Regions from separate parts of the Homo sapiens genome. Here regions 1, 2, 3 and 4 are each linked to region 5. Evidence: promoter capture Hi-C in 16 types of primary human blood cells and fetal thymus (Javierre and others, 2016). All regions are on one chromosome and are shown on one strand. Each heading gives the region's core, a stretch centred on a gene start or on the middle of the fragment in contact. The rest is flanking DNA. Distances are from core to core; before and after follow the strand shown. Region 1 overlaps ELF2 (E74 like ETS transcription factor 2). Region 2 overlaps ELF2 (E74 like ETS transcription factor 2). Region 3 has its middle 33 kb from the start of NOCT. Region 4 overlaps ELF2 (E74 like ETS transcription factor 2). Region 5 holds the start of MGARP (mitochondria localized glutamic acid rich protein).

The links. Contacts are between HindIII fragments. The CHiCAGO score rates a contact against its expected background, and 5 or more counts as called.
Region 1: a contact is called between a fragment that was not itself captured here and the fragment with the promoter of MGARP in region 5, in 4 of 17 cell types (total CD4 T cells, total CD8 T cells, monocytes and 1 more). The highest score is 5.4, in total CD4 T cells.
Region 2: a contact is called between a fragment that was not itself captured here and the fragment with the promoter of MGARP in region 5, in 7 of 17 cell types (naive CD8 T cells, total CD4 T cells, naive B cells and 4 more). The highest score is 6.5, in naive CD8 T cells.
Region 3: a fragment that was not itself captured here is called in contact with the fragment with the promoter of MGARP in region 5 in 2 of 17 cell types (neutrophils and non-activated CD4 T cells); the score reaches 6.3 in neutrophils.
Region 4: a contact is called between a fragment that was not itself captured here and the fragment with the promoter of MGARP in region 5, in 12 of 17 cell types (naive B cells, total CD4 T cells, total CD8 T cells and 9 more). The highest score is 11.6, in naive B cells.

The regions. Positions count from the first base shown.
Region 1 is chr4:139,145,229-139,149,091 of GRCh38, forward strand. All of the region lies in intron 1 of ELF2 (E74 like ETS transcription factor 2), which reads right to left. Among named protein-coding and RNA genes, the nearest start is that of ELF2, 30 kb to the right of the region's middle. The HindIII fragment of the contact is 4,043 bases long and covers 1-3,579 here.
Region 2 is chr4:139,126,431-139,129,798 of GRCh38, forward strand. The region is part of intron 3 of ELF2 (E74 like ETS transcription factor 2); the gene reads right to left. Among named protein-coding and RNA genes, the nearest start is that of ELF2, 49 kb to the right of the region's middle. The HindIII fragment of the contact is 2,948 bases long and covers 138-3,085 here.
Region 3 is chr4:139,046,747-139,050,549 of GRCh38, forward strand. No RefSeq gene overlaps it. Among named protein-coding and RNA genes, the nearest start is that of NOCT, 33 kb to the left of the region's middle. The HindIII fragment of the contact is 4,269 bases long and covers 1-3,803 here.
Region 4 is chr4:139,108,665-139,112,138 of GRCh38, forward strand. All of the region lies in intron 4 of ELF2 (E74 like ETS transcription factor 2), which reads right to left. Among named protein-coding and RNA genes, the nearest start is that of ELF2, 67 kb to the right of the region's middle. The HindIII fragment of the contact is 3,650 bases long and covers 1-3,418 here.
Region 5 is chr4:139,277,954-139,281,545 of GRCh38, forward strand. MGARP (mitochondria localized glutamic acid rich protein) reads right to left here and starts at 2,272. Exons shown (of 4, transcript NM_032623.4): 1 at 2,124-2,272. The coding sequence starts at 2,205. RefSeq lists an enhancer at 2,027-2,236. The HindIII fragment of the contact is 26,288 bases long and covers 1-3,592 here.

The sequences.
Region 1 (3,863 bases), core at 308-2,807, 130 kb before region 5:
ACCAGCATTTAAGAAAGCCAACGCACTACGGCTATTTACAACCAAGGAATCTCACAACGTATGTCATTCCCCTGTTACCCCTATGAGAGCTGGTGCTGGTACACATTGCTGGGAGACTTGAGGACAGATAACATCACTGGATCCCTTGCAGACATTCCCCAGAATCAGCCTGGAATGTGGTAACCCCACTGGGCAGCTAGACCCAGAGGAGCAGCAGTACTCACAGTAGTCTGGCTCTCAGGGACTCCTACTCCTAGGGCAAGGGGGACAGCACCACATCAAGGAAGCAACCTGTTCTTCTTCATTCTATGAAGTCAGTATCACCCTGATACCAAAGCCAGGAAAGGATGTAACAAAAAGAAAGAAAACTACAGACCAATATCCCTGATGAACATAGATGTAAAAATCCTCAACAAAATACTAGCTAACCAAATCAAATGGCACATCAAAAAGATAATACACCATGATCAAGTGGGTTTAATCCCAGGAATGCAGGGATGGTTTAACATATGCAAGTCAACAAATGTGATATATCACATAAACAATTAAAAACAAAAACCACATGATTGTTTCAATAGATGCAGAAAAAACATTCAATAAAATCAAGTATCCCTTTATGATAAAAACACCCAAAAAACAAGGCACAGAAGGGAATTATCTCAAAATAATAAAAGTCATATACGACAAAGCATACTGAATGGGAAAAAGTTGCAAGCATTCCCCCTGAGAACTGGAATAAGACAAGGATGCTCACTTTAATCACTTCTTTTCAACATAGTACTTTAAGTCCTGGCCAGAGCAATCAGGCATGAGAAAGAAATAAAGGGCATCCAAATTGGAAAACAGGAAGTCAAACTATCGCTGTTTGCTGATGATATGATCGTATACCTACAAAATGCTGAAGATTCCTCCAAAGACTATTAGATTTGATAAGTGAATTTAGTAAAATCTTAGGTTACAAAGTCAATGAACACAAATCCAGTAGCACTGCTATACAACAACGACCAAGCTGAGAATCAAATTAAGAACTCAATCCATTTTATAACAGCTGCAAAAATATATATAAAATACCTAGGAATATACTTAACCAAGGGGGTGAAAGATCTCTACAAGAAGAACTACAAACACTGATGAAAGAAACCATAGATAACACAAACAAATGGAAACACATCCCATGCTCATGGATTGGAAGAATCAATATCATGAAAATGACCATACCATCTAAAGCAATCTACAGATTCAATACAAATCTGATCAAAACAGCAACATCCTTTTTCACAGATTTAGAGAAAGAAAATCCTAAAATTCCTATGAAACCAAAAAAGAGGCTGAATAGCCAAAGCAATCCTAAACAAAAACAACAAATCTGAAGGCATCACATTATTGGACTTCAAATTATACCAGGCTATAGTTAACAAAACAGCATGGTACTGGTATAAAAATAGACACATTGACCAATGGAACAGATTAAAGAATCCAGAAATAAAACCAAATATCCACAACCAACTCTCTTCAACAAAGCATGAAAAACATAAATTGGGGAAAGGACACCCTATTTATTTAATAAATGGTGCTGAGAAAACTGGCTAGCCACAAGTAGAAAAATGAAACTGGATCCCTGTCTCTCATCTTATACAAACATCAACTCAAGATAGATCAAAGATTTAAATATAAGACCTAAAACCATAAAAGTCCTAGAAGATAACCTAGAAAAAAATTCTTCTGGACATTGGCCTAGGCAAAGAATTCATGACTAAGACCCCAAAAGCAAATGCAACTAAAACAAAAATAAATAAATGGGACCTAATTAAACTAAAAGGCTTCTGTACAGCAAAAAATAATAATCAGCATCATCATCAGAGTAAAGAGACAACCCACAGAATGGGAGAAAATATTCGCCAACTATGCATCCAACAAAGGACCAACGTCCAGAATCCACAGGGAGCTCAAACAAATCAGCAAGAAAAAAAATAATCTCATGAAAAAGTGGGAAAATGACATGAACAAACATTTCTCAAAAGAAGATATACAACTGGCCAACACATAAATGAAAAAGTGCTCAATATCACTAATCATTCAGGGAAATGCAAATTAAAACCACAATGACACACCATCTTACTCCTGCAAGAATGGCCATTATTAAGACAAAAGACAATAGATATTGGCATGGACTTGGTGAAAAGGGAACACTTATGCACTGCTAGTGGAAATGTAAATTAGTGCAACCTCTATGCAAAACAGTATGGAGATTTTTTTTTGTTAAGACAGTGTCTCACTCTGTCGCCTAGGCTGGAGAGCAGTGGCGCGATCTCGGCTCACGGCAACCTCCTTCCCCTGGCTTCAAGCCATTCTCTTGCCTCAGCCTCCCAAGTAGCTGGGATTACAGGCACCTGCCACTGCGCCCAGCTAATTTTTTTTTGTATTTTTAGTAGAGACGGGGTTTCACCATCTTGACCAGGCTGGTCTTGAACTCCTGACCTCATGAGTTACCTGCCTCGGCCTCCCAAAGTGCTGGGATTACAGGCGTCAGCCACGGCACCCAGCCAGAGATTTTTTTTTTTTTTTTTTTTTTCCTGAGATGGAGTTTCACTCTTGTTGCCCAGGCTGGAGTGCAATGGCACGATCTCGGCTCACCGCAACCTCCGCCTCCCAGGTTCAAGCGATTCTCCTGTCTCAGCCTCCCGAGTAGCTGGGATTACAGGCATGCGCCACCAGGCCCAGCTAATTTTGTATTTTTAGTAGAGACAGGGTTTCTCCATGTTGATCAGGCTGGTCGCAAACTCTTGACTTCAGGTGATCCGCCTGCCTCAGCCTCCCAAAATGCAGGGATTACAGGCATGAGCCACCGTGCCCAGCCAAGACCCTGTACCTTAAAAAAAAAAAAAAATTAATGTACTTTCTATCTCCAGAGAGCTGTCTGTTCTGGCCATTTCATATGAATATAATTATATAATATGTGATTTTTTTGGGGGGGTGGGGAGACAAGGCTGCCCACTGCAGCCTTGACCTCCTGGGCTCAAGTGATCCTCCTACCTCAGGGCCTCTACAGTAGCTAGGACTACAGACAGGTGAAGTCATACCTGGCTAATTTTTTTTTTTTTTTTTTTTTTTTTTTTTTTGTAGAGACAGGGCTTCATTATGTTGCCCAGGCTGATCTCAAATTCCTGGGCTCAAGTGAACACCTGGGCTCCTCCTGCCTTGGCCTCCCAAAGTGCTGTGATTGCAGGCCTGAGCCATCATACCCAGCCTACTATGTGGTCTTTTGTGACTGGCTTCTTTCACTTACAATAAAGTTTTCAAGGTTCCTTTCATTTACATGTAACATCTGTTAGTATTTAATTTCTTTTTATTGCTGAGTAATATCCTATTGTATAGACATATCACATTTCTCTATTCATCCACCGATGCACATTTGAGATGTTTCTACTTTTTTTTTTTTACCATTGTGAATGCTATTCTGAAAATTCATGTACAAGACATATGTTCTATATGAATGTTTTCATTTCTTTCGCATATATAGCCAGGAGAAGAAGTGCTAGAACACAGTAACTGTATGTTTAACATTTTGAGGAAATGACAAGCTTTTCCAAAGTGGCTACACCATTTCACATTCCTACCAGCAGCATTTGAAGATACCCAGTTCTTCATATCCTCACCAACAAAATGTTTAGGTAATTTGTTATGCAGCAATAGGTAACTAATACATCATTTTGGTAGATGCGGTACAAATGTCTTCATAAAATTCAACATCCTTTTAAAATTTAAGAAAAAAATTCAACCAAGACTCAAAAACAAGATATTTTAAACTTTCTCCCAGTATTGAGAACAAACACATTTACCTACAATTACCACCTTAATTCAAC
Region 2 (3,368 bases), core at 362-2,861, 150 kb before region 5:
ATTTTCTAAGACTGAAGGATATAAGCCACCCATTTGAAAGGACCCACCAAGTGTCTAGTACAAAAAATTAAGGAACACATACATTGAGGCATATCACTGTGAAATATCATAATATTGGGAACAGAAAAGATTCTACAAGCTTCTAGAAAGAAAACACAGGTTACTACAAAGAATCAGGACACAGACTTCAGTCTTCTCAACAGTCATACTAGAAGGAAGATGACAGTTGAGCAATTTCTTCAAAATTATGAAGAAAAATTACTTCCAATCTAGGATTCTTCACCCAGTCAAATCATCTTATAGAAGTAGAATAAAGGTATCTTCTCAGACATGAAAGATCTCAAACATTTACCTTTCATGTTTCCTTTCTCAAGAAGATACTGGAGAATGTATCCCATCAATAAGAGAGAGTGAATTTTTTAAAAAAGAGAACTATTGCAAATACAGGATAGAAGAGATCAACATAGGAGAGAAACAATGGGAATCTTCAGGAAGACTGTGAAGAGAGATTCCACGATGCTAGCTATGCACCAGATTTAAAGGGCAACCAGTCCAAAATATAGCAGTGTGACTCCTGAGATAGCATGATGAACTGTCATTACTACGATAACCATTGACCTTGTTCCTAAGGACAGAATGTCCAGATCAGTCTGTTCTAGATTTTTATTGACATTTGGCTTACCTTCATGTACCTACTCACTCCACCTGCCCTGCTGCCTGGATCAGCTAAGAACACATTTCACCCCCCAGATGTGTTCTGCTTTGATCTACTATGTGTTGGAGGAAGATTACCATGGGCTTAAAATAAAAGATACAGAACAGCGTTCTTCATGTGACCATATACCTCCTGAACAAATATGCAATACCCAGCCCATACCATACTGTAGCACTGCCAGATACCAGAGCAGGATGTGCCTTACATTTCTAAAAACTCATGGCATTGCTCACTGACTACTTGAAGACAAGCTCATGACACTCAGTGAACCTGACTATTCAGCTATCTTCTCCTGGAAGCCTTCATCTATCTATGATAATATTGCCCTTTCCTAACTCAATTAGCTTGGTAAACTATTTTTTCAAAATAAAATATTGTTTAGGACTATTTTCATAGGTGGCAAAACTATAAAGAAAAGTAAAGAAATTATAATACATAAGTCAAAACAATAGCACCTCTGGAAACAGCGCCCAGCCGGGTTTTAATATTTCAGTGATTCCTTCTCTTTGACCATAAAAAAGCTAAAATCATTTTGCATTAAAAAATTCAGGGTTCATGCCTGTAATCCCAGCACTTTTGGAGGCTGAGGTGGGCAGATCACCTGAGGTCAGGTGTTCGAGACCAACCTGGCCAATACAGTAAAACCCCATCCCTACTAAAAATACGAAAATTAGCCAGGCATGGTTGCATGCGCCTGTAATCCCAGCTACTTGGGAGGCTGAGGCATGAGAATTGCTTGAACCCGGGAGGCAAAGGTTGCAGTGAGACAGGATCACACCACTGCATTCCAGCCTGGCTGACAGAATGAGACTCGGTCTCAAAAAAAAAAAAAAAAAAATTCAGACCAGGTTCAGCGGCTCACACCTGTAATCCCAAAACTTTGGGAGGCCAAGGCAGGAGGACTGCTTGAGCCCAGGAGTTCAAGACCAGCCTGGGCAACATAGGGAGACCCTATCTCTAGAAAAAATAAAAAATAAATATCAGCCGGGCGTTGTGGCTCTTGCCTATAGTCCTAGCTACTTGGGAGGCTGAGGCAAGAGGATTGCTTGAACCCAGTAGGTGAAGGCTGCAGTGAGCCATAATCATGCCTTTGCACTCCAGCCTGGCAACTGAGAACAAGTCTCAAAAATTAAAAAAAAAAAGAAAAATATTAAACTCTCATTTCTTTTAACTGAACTTTTAACTGATCTTTAACTGAAGTTAAAAGGCAACAAGTCCAATTAAAGAAGTTCTTTAACTGAACTTTAACTGATCGATCGAGACGTATACTTGTATACATTTCTCAAAAAAATAGTCTAACTCCTTGACTTATCTATATATTCCTTGTAATCTATGTTCCACCACCTCACTGAAGCTATTCTCTAAAAATATTTTTTTGCTTTTTTTTTTTTTTTGAGACAGGGTCTAGCTCTGTCGCCCAGGTTGGAGTGCAGTGGCACAATCATGGCTCACCGCAACCTCTGCCTCCCAGGCTCAAACCATCCTCCCACCTCAGCCTCCTGAGTAGCTGGGACTACAGGCATGTGCCACCACTCCCAGCTAATTTGTGTATTTTTGGTAGAGACAGGGTTTCACCATGTTGCCCAGGCTGGTCTTGAACTCCTGGACTCGAGCAATCCACTTGCCTCAGCCTCCCAAAGTGCTGGCATTACAAGCATGGGCCACCATACCCAGCCTCAAAATGTTAATAACGACCAAATTCTATTTCAGTTTTCAATCTCTACTGCCTCCCCGCAGACTCATACATTTATTATTACCCTCATTTAAAAAATTCATTCTTCCAACTTTCTCTACCACTCTACTTTCTTTTTTGAAATGGAGTTTCGCTCGTTGCCCAGGCTGGAGTGCAATGGCGCAATCTTGACACACCGCAACCTCTGCCTCCCAGGTTCAAGTGATTCTCCTGCCTCAGCCCCCTGAGTAGCTGGGATTACAGGCATGTGCCACCATGTCCAGCTAATTTTGTATTTTTAGTAGAGACAGGGTTTCTTCATGGTGGTCAGGCTAGTCTCAAACTCCTGACCTCAGGTGATCCGCCCGCCTCAGCCTCCCAAAGTGCTGGGATGACAGGCATGAGCGACTACCCCCGGCCTACCACTCTACTTTCAAGCGTCTCCTCTGACTCTTCTTTCATCTCCATAGACTCAAGTCTAGCCAACTTAGTGAGGTTCTATCCTCAGTGTCTCCTTTCTTTTTGCCCTATACTACCTTCTCAAGTAAGCCCACCCATTCTTATGGTTTCAAATAGCACCTCTATGCTGATAATGACTAAGTATTTGTCCTCTACTCTGACTCATCTTCTGAATTCCAAAACCAAATTTTAAACTACCAACTTTAACATCACTACAGGAATACTCAGTCAACACTTCAAGCTTAACATGTCTAAATGGCACAAATTATCTACATCTGTCCCTGTTTCCCCATTCTGTGTTCTTTAAATCTTGGTTTCTTCATATTTAAAAAAGAGATTTTAATATTTCTGTCCTTTAAAGTCCCATGACTTTATATGCACAAAGTTCTTAGCATAGTATAAGTACAAAGCACAGAGTAAGTTATTCAATTAGTGACAGCTGATATTATATTTTAACAATAGAAATAGTCTTCAAATCTACTATTTGCCCTCAACTTTAGAGGGCACCTTTTCACATCACAA
Region 3 (3,803 bases), core at 559-3,058, 230 kb before region 5:
TTTTAGTAGAGACGGGGTTTCACCATGTTAGTCAGGATGGTCTCAGTCTCGATCTCCTGACCTGGTGATCTGCCCGCCTTGGCCTCCCAAAGTGCTGGGATTACAGGCGTGAGCCACAGCGCCCGGCCTTATTGTGTTTCTTGAAGAGATTCCAATTAGTTTTCAATTATTTAACCAATTAGTTTTCATTATTGCTGTTATATTTAAACTTTACCATTGGAATAATATTGGTATGCGTTTGATATTAGTCACTCGATGTCATCATTATTTGTATTGGAATGTGCTATTCACAATAGGTTATTTAGAAGCTGTATGTGGCAGTGGCCAAGAGAGTCAGTAGGACCTTCTTTTCAGAGATAGGAAACTTTCTAGAAAGCCTGTTAATGGGCTTTCATTGAAATTTCCTAAGATAGCCAGATACTGTCATTCAAAATATCTAGAAAGAAGAATGTAAAAAGTTAGATAACCTGGGTCGGGTGTGGTGGCTCATGCTTGTAATCCCAGCACTTTCGGAGGCCAAGGTGGGCGGATCAACTGTGGTCAGGAGTTCGAAACCAGCCTGGCCAACATGGTGAAACCTCGTCTCTACTAAAAATACAAAAATTAGCTGGGCATGGTGGCAGGTGTCTGTAATCCCAGCTACTTGGGAGGCTGAAACAGGAGAATCGCTTGAACCTGGGAGGTAGAGGTTGCAGTGAACCCAGACTGCACCATTGCGCTCTAGCCTGGGCAACAAGAGTGAAACTCCATCTCAAAAAAACCTGGAATTCTCTTCCATCAGAAATAAAAGTAAAAATTACAGGTAAAGCCTCTTCCAAACAAAATAACTTATTGGTAATAGATATTTTAATTTGTGAGTTGTAAATACATAAGATTAATAAATGGTCTTTTAAACCTAGTGCTTTTAATGTCTTTGTAGTCCAAAAAGAATCTGGGAGTAGATTTTCTCCTTTAATACTGTTTTATCATAATGACCCACATATATCCATTCACACATGGAGCCTTCACTGTAAAAGTGAACGTACATAGATCTGTAGCTGCAACAACGTCCACTGAAATGGATCACTCATTCTTTAATAGAACCACTTTTAAAACAAATGAGGTTTTCAGAAGTAACATAGTATGCACAGAATTTTGGGGCTACTGGAAAGAATGACAAGCACGGGAACATCTACCAAATGTAGAATTGGTTCAGATTTTAGCATGACTAATTGCTAGTCATATGTTGTTGAGAACAATACTGATTAGAATACTCATTATTGCAGGTACATTGTTTACCTACCCCAAAATACTTCAACCGGAAGAGAAACCATGGCAGCCTTAAATAAATAAATCTGGATAAGAATGAAGGCCAAAATAATGTCTGAGTTTCAAGTGTTGTCTACCAACAAAATTAACAGGGTATGAGTTGAGGGTGGGCATATGGGTGCATGGGCATGCCACCAGACGAAATCAGTTTTGGAAACACCAACATATGATTGGTATGTTACTATGAGTTAAGGGGACTGGAAAAAATCCAGTGAAACTCTCGAGTTATCCTTTCTAGTTATCACTGCAGGAGATTGGATCCTTCACTGATGCATTATCAGGAACTGAAAAAGAAAATTTTTTTAAAGTCATATGTGAGCCTTCTAATAATTTTTTAGTAGTATATAAATCTTAATAGGTTGCTTTTTTCTTTTCTTTTGAGATACGGTATTGCTCTGTCACCCAGGCTGCAGTGCAGTGGTGTGATCATGGCTCACTGTAGTCTACCCCACGGGCTCCAGTGATCCTCCCACCTCAGTCTCCCGAGCTGCTGGGACCACAGGCACGTGAAACCATGCCCAGCTAAAATTTTTTACTTTTTTGTAGAGATGGGGTTTCATCACATTGCCCAGGCTGGTCCCAAACTCCTGGGTTCAAGTGATCCTCCTACCTCCACCTCCCAAAGTGCTGGGATTACAGCCATGAGCCACTGTGCCCCACCCTAAGTTGCATGTTCCTTGCATAGATCCCTTATTCCATCCATATGTACCTTTCATTCTGCTTTTCCTATTATACCCTATATACTATTGTTTCTGGTTTTTATTTTTCTATTTTCCCATACACTGTTTTGTCAGAGTCTCAGAAGGTAAATTGCAAATTTGAAGAGGGAGTAGGAATGGCATGAGTTTTGGTTTCCTTCATGCCACATTTCAGTAGATACCGTAGTACATGGTGGTAGTAACGACTGACTGGATTGTTTATTTAAATAAGGCATTATGGTGTATACATATGATGAAATTAACATTTGAGTTCCTTTGACTCCAAGAGCTTTACATACGATCTTAAAACTAAACTATAGACGGGGGCTCAAAAGGTCAAATAATTTGAGCAAAGTGATAGCAAATAAATAGTAGCTGAGTCAGGATTCAAACTCAGGTCTGTCTGGATTCCAAAGTGCTTGCTTCTTCCCCACCACCATTTCTTTGGCTTTGAGTGAACACAAACGGGGAGAATAGACATTGCAGTGTAGCAAGAGATTTGTTAAACATGGTCAAATGGTCAAACATGTAAGTCAAATACACATGAACTATCATACATACAGTGTTAGACTAGAAGCAGGATATGGTGGCTGAATACTGGAATATAATGGATTTCCAGTGGGTTTTTTTTTTTTTTTTTTTTTTTAAGATGGAGTCTCACTCTGTTGCCTGGGCTGGAGTGCAGAGGTGCGATGTCAGCTCACTGCGACCTCCGCCTCCCAGGTTCAAGTGATTCTCCTGCCTCAGCCTCCCTAGTAGCTGGAATTACAGGCGTGAGCCACCACACCCGGCCTGGATTTCCAGTTTTCTGATACAGTAAAGTCTAGTTTTGCCCAAAGTAGAACATTTGATACTGTTTGTGTACTTCAATCGTAGTTTTTAAAGGAAGCAATAAGAACAGCTACTCTAGTATTTCAAATTAAAGGAAAAAACTGATGCAAATATTCTGTATTCAAACCATTTTTTAAAACAGTCAAGATTTATAATGAAGGGAATGTTGCATATAGTTACATATATATGCATTATTTATCATGTGTGTTAGACTTGAAAGATTCCCAAGAATTAAATTCTAAAAAGAGAGAAAACTAAAACATGATTTCAGTTTTAAAAAAGGAAAGACATCCAAGAAATGAATGTGCATGCATAAGGAGCTCTAATCAACTCTTTCTTTAAAATGACATGTATAAAAATATAGGACAGGCAGACTTTTTACCTGGAGTGGATAGATATTAGCAAGAGATTTGTGAGCCATGGTCAAACACCAGAATGGCAAAGGCCTGGAACTAGGGCATGTACAATAAGGGGAGAGGAAAAAAGCAACATGTCAAAGGGCACAGGCTGTAACTGAAAAGACTTAGCTGTCACCAGTGTGACCCTGAACGAGTAGAGCCTAAGTTTTCTCATCCATAGAGTATATCTGCCCTCTCAACCTCATAGATTTGTGAGATCTGTAAAATAATATAAATTTTAAAATACATATTGTAAGTCACACAATAATAATGGCTAAGTTTCAAAACAAAAAAGGGAAGGGCCCTCTGTATTTCATGTCGTAACAACCCACTCCTAATTTTTTCACCAAAGAGAATAACCCTTCAATTTGAAAGGGCAGAACTAAGTGTTTATAGAAATTTAAGCCCAAAATAGGCAGAAGGGCTGACTGAAGGGCAAAAGATTGGTTGGTTGGTCTTTTCTACCCAGTTGTTCCTCTAGGCAGATGTGAGGTTGTGGGCTAGTGCTTAGGTTCTTCAATTTCGAGAGGTTGTCAGTTGTACTTTGATTTGTAATGTAGAAAGATCT
Region 4 (3,474 bases), core at 344-2,843, 170 kb before region 5:
AAATAGCAGACTAGGGTTGTGGGGAGGTGGTTAATGGATAAGAAGGCAACAAAACATACCCTGCTCTGAGAACAGACTTGTCTTTATTAAACAGGTAAATGTCCGTGGGTAGAAAAAAAAATAAAAGAATCGAAGAACTGGTTGTTAAGGAAGGTCACAGAAGACTCTCAAACGAGGGGAACAGAACAACCTTCAAACTCACACATCTGAACATTTTAAGATCCGGGGCCCAAATAAGTATGCTTCCTGCCCCGTGTCTAGAACTGTTAAGAGTAACTCTGATGCAATGATCGAATGAGGAGGCATCATAGCAACTCTTCTTTATTTAAAGAAAAACATCATGGAAAGTATCTTCTGCCAAAGATACTATGTTATCTCCCTGAAAAAGCCCTCATATACCTTAAGGAGAGCATAGTAAACAAGCATCATTGCCACAAATAACCTGCTGGTATAAATCTAACTTTATTTTTTTTTTCAGGAAGATGCTTCAATAATTTCAAAAAGTAAAGCTAACAACATTTTAGTTTCTTGGTCCAACAATTATTTCTGGTCACTAATGTAAGACAACTTGGGGTCTGGCCAGTACTCCTAACCCACAGTATTTAACTGTCTGATTTACAAAATTAAAAAATTAAAACCTAGTTGAGAAAAATGCACTACCACGGCATGAGACGAGCAGCATTAAGAAGCAGCAGACTTAATGAGGTAAAAGGCTAAATATAATACAGTTTATTAAATGAGAATTTTAGTCCCTTGGCTATTTATGACTGTGCCAAAGTAGTACTAACAAGCCAGGTGGTCCTGCTCTAAAGGTATAAGGCTGTTCTATAAGACATTTAGTCTTAAGAGATAATCTCTTAAAAGAGATACCTCTTCTTTAGAATCACATTTGCATATTAAAACATCTGAGAAGTCTTCCTGTAAATAAATCTGTTTAATTTTCCTTCACCCAGCATTTTCTAAACTTATTTAATGAAAAACCCATTTTTCACAGCCATAAAAAGGAATGAAATCGTGTCCTTTGTAGCAACATGGAACAGCCGGAGGCTAACGCACAGACAAAAACCCAAATATCACACTTACAAGTGGGAGCTAAATTTTGGGTTCACAAAATACATAAAGATGGGAATAACAGTCACTGGGGATTCCAAAAGGAGGGAGGGAGGAACAGAGGGAGGGAGAAAGGAGCAAGGATATTTTTAAAACTTCCCACGTGTACTGTGTTCACTATCTGGGTGATGGGATCAATAGAAGCCCAAACCTCAGCATCATGCAGTATACTCTCGTAACAAACCTGCACATGTACCCCCTGAATCTAAAATAAAAAGAAACGTTAAAAAATATTTTTGTGTTATAATTAATATTGTATATTAGAAATCGCTTTGAAAAAGAACGCTATTTTTTGATGTAAGCATCTTCTAAGTACTAGCCATATCAACTAATCAGAAAAACTTTTAAGAAATTTACACTCAAAGCTATGTCTGTGCTATTGGTGTAAAAGAAGAAAAAACTACCTAATCACAATAACAAGATTAAGACTCTTAAAGTGGCAAAATAAGATAAAGCTGCTGACCATAGCAGAGCACATGCTCTGGGGTCCTGGTCCTTCCCCCAAAACAATATGATGGGCTTACGTCACATTTTCTTGCCCAGTTCCTGTTGTGACCAAAGACAGACATCTGTAAGGCAGCTATCCAGGGACAAAATGTTTGAGAATGGCCATGGAATAAAACTAACTAAAGATAAAACCTGGGTACTAAAAAAAAACTAATCTTTGTTTCATGAAACACCTTTCTAATCCGGAGACTGAACTGACAACCATATCATAGACAATCATATTTTTTCATGCTTTTACAGAATGAAGTTATTAAAAAACAGCATCTCAGAATTGAAAATTATAAAGAAATCTGGTTTGAACACCTACCTGACACTTGAATTCTCTTTACAATATCCCTAAGTGGCATTCTAGTTCTTGCTTTAAAATCTCCAGTTGTAAAGATACTCACAACCTCTCATTCCATCTTAAACAACTGCACTGCTTAGGAGCTATGATTTGAATCTTTATCTAAATCCCTATAAAAATGAGAACTTGTCACTAATAGGCCAACCTACTCCAAAACAATTGTTGTTAAACTAAAAGATCACTTCTTTTTGGCAATTAAAAAACACACATATCCGGAATCTTCCATACTTCTATTGTAAATATTCCATTATATCATTAATAAACAGGATAGTAATTATCTTAAGGAAGAAGGAAAGGGGAAAATTAAATTCGGGAACATAAGATGTATTTAAATTAACACTGCTGCCAATATTTTATTAATTTTAGTAGTACATACTTATTAGTTGAATTTTTCAGTTTTTTAGAATATTCTAAATATTGTGTATTACATTTTTTAAAAAGAAAAAAAATCCATTATAAAGCCCTTTGATATATATTTAGTTGCAAAGGCTCAAATCATAGCTCTTCTGTATATAATTCTCTTTATGGTATCTACTATGACACCTAAGGCCTAGAACACTGTCGATGATGCCAGTGGAAATAAAAACCAGCAGTTGTTTGTATGCAGCGCTGAAAATACAGATAGAGTTTCAAGATAACTTTTACTTACAAGTTAGTCCTCAAAGACATCAAGACCAAAAGAAATATATTAACTTACGCTGTCTAGTCCAAATGATCAAAATGATATACTTTTTTTTTTTGGAGACAGGGTCTTGCTTGTTTGCCCAGGCTGGAGCAGTGGCGCCATCACAGCTCAATGCAACCTTGAACTCCTGGGACTGCAAGGAGTAGCTGGGACTACAGGTCCATGCCACCATACCAACCTTTTTTTTTTTTTTTTTGTACAGACAAGGTCTCAATATAAAATAATATTCCTATTACACAATTGACTTAAAGGCCACCAGCCTAGATAAATACCTAACAAATTCAACAAATAGGCATGGCATTCAATCAGGACTCGCTGTTTTGAGTCTCGCCCAGGTCCTGGAAAAACCCAAAAGTTTATACAAATGGGCATGGACAATGGATAAGAGACAATGATTCCTCCTCCTGAAACAACACCGTACAAAGCATCTACCTTGTTAACTCCAAAAAGAAAGGCTGGCTGAGCAACTATTTTAATCTCTACTACTTTTAACTTAGTGTAGGCAATGAGCACACCTATACCCCAAATCTGGAGAGGTAGACAACTTAGTGGAAGGTGAAAAAGAACAGTTAGCTAGATATCAGGGAGCTATGAATGAGAAACCAAGGAGTTCAGACTTTAAGTAATTCTTTGACTGTCCTATTCCTTTTTTCATTTACAGCACTTACTATTTTGAAAAAAACTAAATTTGTATTTTTCAAAACTGCTCAAAACTTTTAAAAGGCTCCTCACTGCCCTTTAGACTTATCTGATCCAAGAAACAGATACAAAGCTTTAAAAGCCCTCAGCAATAAGATTTTTTTCTATTTTGCCTCTTACACCTCAT
Region 5 (3,592 bases), core at 1,022-3,521:
TCGGTGGCTCACACCTGTAATCCCAGCACTTTGGGAGGCCGAGGTAGGTGGATCACCTTAGGTTGGGAGTTCAAGACCAGCCTGACCAACATGGAGAAACCCCATCTCTACTAAAAATGCAAAATTAGCTGGGTGTGGTGGCCCGTGCCTGTAATCCCAGCTACTCCGGAGGCTGAGGCAGGAGAATCACTTGGATCCGGGAGGCGGAGGTTGTGGTGAGCCGAGATCACGCCATTGCACTCCAGCCTGAGCAACAAGAGTGAAACTCTGTCTCAAAAAAATAAAATTACCCTTTTAAAAGCAAAAAGGAGAGAACAAAATGTGATGAGACACAGTTAAAAATTTTTCCTTCAATAAAACTGAAAAAAATTATTTTTCATCAAAGTAGAAAGTATGAACAAAAGGTTAAGTAATGTCCACGACTGAAGACAAATTTGTTTCCAATCAATAATAGTTCTTAAATACATTTTAAGTGCTGCAAAAATAGTTAGATGAAAATCAGAGAAAGACCAGTACCTTTACAAGCAGCATTGCTAGATACGTATTTAAAATTTTTAAACTACTTCTATTTTGCCGCAAATTGGGAAGAAAATTATTTGGAATTTCTGCAGCTACAAAAAAAAGGTGCGCGTGTGTGTGTGTGTGTTTGTGTGTGCGTGCACGCGCGCATGATGTCGGTGGGGAACGCAGACAGATAAAACGAAAGGCCACGGTCAGAGGACTAATCTTTCTCCCCGTTCTCAACAGAACAGTCCCGTTATCTTCCGAAGTTTAAAATAAATGGCTTCTCCCTACTTCATCAGTGTATATATATATTTAAAAGCTCTATATCATTTGGTATAAAGATCTAGAAAAATAAAGGCAATAAAGATCTAGGAAAACGAAGATGTCTTATTTCTGATACTTGAGGGATAACTTCCTTCCACCAGCATTTTACAAGAAAAATAAAGCGAGTTAGTTAGACCTCCGTCCTTCCCTCCCACCACCACCAACAGAGGCCTAATCAACGTGAAAAAAAAATCGGCCCATGGAATTCTCCGCGCACATCTTTCTCTCCTGCTGGAATCCACCCTCTGGGGTAAAATTATCTCGGAAGGCTCAGAAAGTGAGGCTAAGTGAAGAGAGCATTAAGAACCCTTCACGATATTGTCTAAGAGCCGTCCCCCAGTCGTGAGTGGAAGAGAGAGGGGTGACGGATGGGGACTAGGGAAAAGCGGCTGGGGCAGAACCGCCCTGGAGCGCAAGCCTGGTCCCAGAAGAAAAACAATCTTCCTTGCTCACACCTATTAAGCACCTACTATGTTCCCAGCACTATACGAAGCGCTTTCCTATATGTCCGTTTTTATTTAATAAGCCTCCAGTTCACACTGCAACTCCCCCTTTAGTTAATTGCTGAGTATTCTGCTTTTTCTCGCGTATCCTCAGAACCAAAGGTGTCGATATTTGGACTACAGAGCCAAGCAGTTGCAGGACGACGTGCAACCTCAAAGGAAAGTGTCCCGAAGGCCGCTTCCTTTTTGGGGGTTGTGGATCTCAGAGCCAGGCGCTCGCGGGGTTCAGGCTGCTGAGACCCTGCCAAGGGTTAGGTTTATTTACCCCACGAACATTCGCCCAGCGTCCACTGAGCGGGCCCTGCCTCACTGCCTCCCAGCGCTTGCCGGGCCCGCTCGCTGATCGGCGTCCACCTTCCCACCGTTCCTCTGCTTCCTCAGGAGATTGGAGAGCGAATGGTGCCTCTAACAATAAAAGTGGTAAGCTGCGACTTTGTCAGCCAGGCACGTTTTTAAGTGCTTTTAACCATACATTAACTCATTAAAAAGGAAAACCATCATCGCCCTCATTTTATAGATGAGGAAACAGGTTAAGCCATTTGTCCAAGATCAGGATGCGAACCCAGATAATCTGGACTCTGAGGCACCCTGGAAAAGTTCCCTACTTCCAAAGTCTGCAGGAGCTTCGGGACGTCTTCCCGGGAGTCTCCCCCAGTCTCCTCGACCTCCAATCCAGGCTTCTGCTGCTCTGGGTCGGGTTTGGCCAACTGGGTGCCGGCCGGTTCCCTGGCGCGGGCGAAATCTGCACCCGAGGCGCCCGTCCTCCTCTCCGGGCTAGACCTCCTTACTCACCGTCCTTTCCGAGCGGCGCGGGGTTGGGGGGCGCCCTCAGCGGCAGCGCCAGAGTCTTGGAGACCGCCCTGCGGAGATACATCGCGCCCGCTGTCCGCCGCGCAGCAGCCTCGGTACCCAGGCGCAGGCTGCCCTTCCACAGAGAGGCTGAGAGCCTGGCAGCGCCCCGCCCGGAGGAGGCACGTCGACCTTCATCCAGCCCCGCCTCCGCGGCCCCCGGGAGGTGGGGAGACCTTTGTAGTCCTCACCATCCTCCCCTAACCCATCTCCAGCTCTGTTGCTATCCCTGAGGTCTCTAGAGCTGACCGCGGCATCTCAGAAAAGGGATGGGGAACCTACAAGTCGCCGTCGCCTGCCTGGCTCATTCTGTACCACTGAATGTAACTCCTCACAGCAAGCTGGAAATGTTTTGGGAATTGGACGAGATTAAGACAAGGACACAGTTTATCACGCTGGATGTAATCTGAAACCATTTTATCTCCTGCATTCCGTTAGCTTTCCTAGGAGAGGGAAGGATAGCTGGAAGTTTCTTAAAAATGAGAAGAGCGAAGGGGTAGCCTCAGCCTTCCATTAGCGCACTGGGTGATGCTCAGAATCGTAAGAAAATCTGCAGACAATGGTTGAATTTCTAGACAGCTCACTGTTAAAACGACTTTAAAATATCAAAAACACTGTATATTCCTCTATGGGATGTGAAATTAATATTTCCACATCAGCGGCCGGGCACAGTGGCTCACGTTTATAATCCCAGCACTTTGGGAGGCCGAGGCAGGCGGATCACTTGAGGTCAGGAGTTGGAGAGCAGCCTGGGCAACATGGTGAAACCCCGTTTCTACTAAAAATACAAAAAATTAGCCGGGAGTGGTGGCGCGGGCCTGTAATCCCAGCTACTCGGGACGCTAAGGCAGGAGAATCGCTTGAACCCGGGAGGCGGAGGTCGCAGTGAGCCGAGATCATGCCACTACATTCAAGCCTGGGTGACAGAGCAAGACCCTGTCTCAAAAGCAAAACAAAACAAAACAAAAACCCCAAAAACAAAACAAAACAAACAAAACAAAAAAACACATCAACTAAAAATACTAAATTATTAGTTTTCCGTCTCATCGTGGCTACAAGAACTTGTCATGGTTTGAATATGGAAACCAATAATTTATTACGTTTATAACATTGTCTAAATGATTACTCTTTGGAAGACACCATTTCCTACTATAATAATCCCTTATGTGTGTTTGGCACTTGAAAGATTATAAAGCACTTTCACATCTATTATCTCTTTTAATTTTCACTGCAACCCTCTGAGGGAGGTGGCAATTATTCCCTTTAGCAAATGCCACCACCAGGTGGTGGGTGGGAATGTCCAGGGATTTACTGGTGGTCATGAATTAAAAAACAAAAAGGACATGAACATAATACTTCTAGCTTAAAGTTCTATTGGCATGTAACAGGCACAATATTTGTTCATTTGCTAT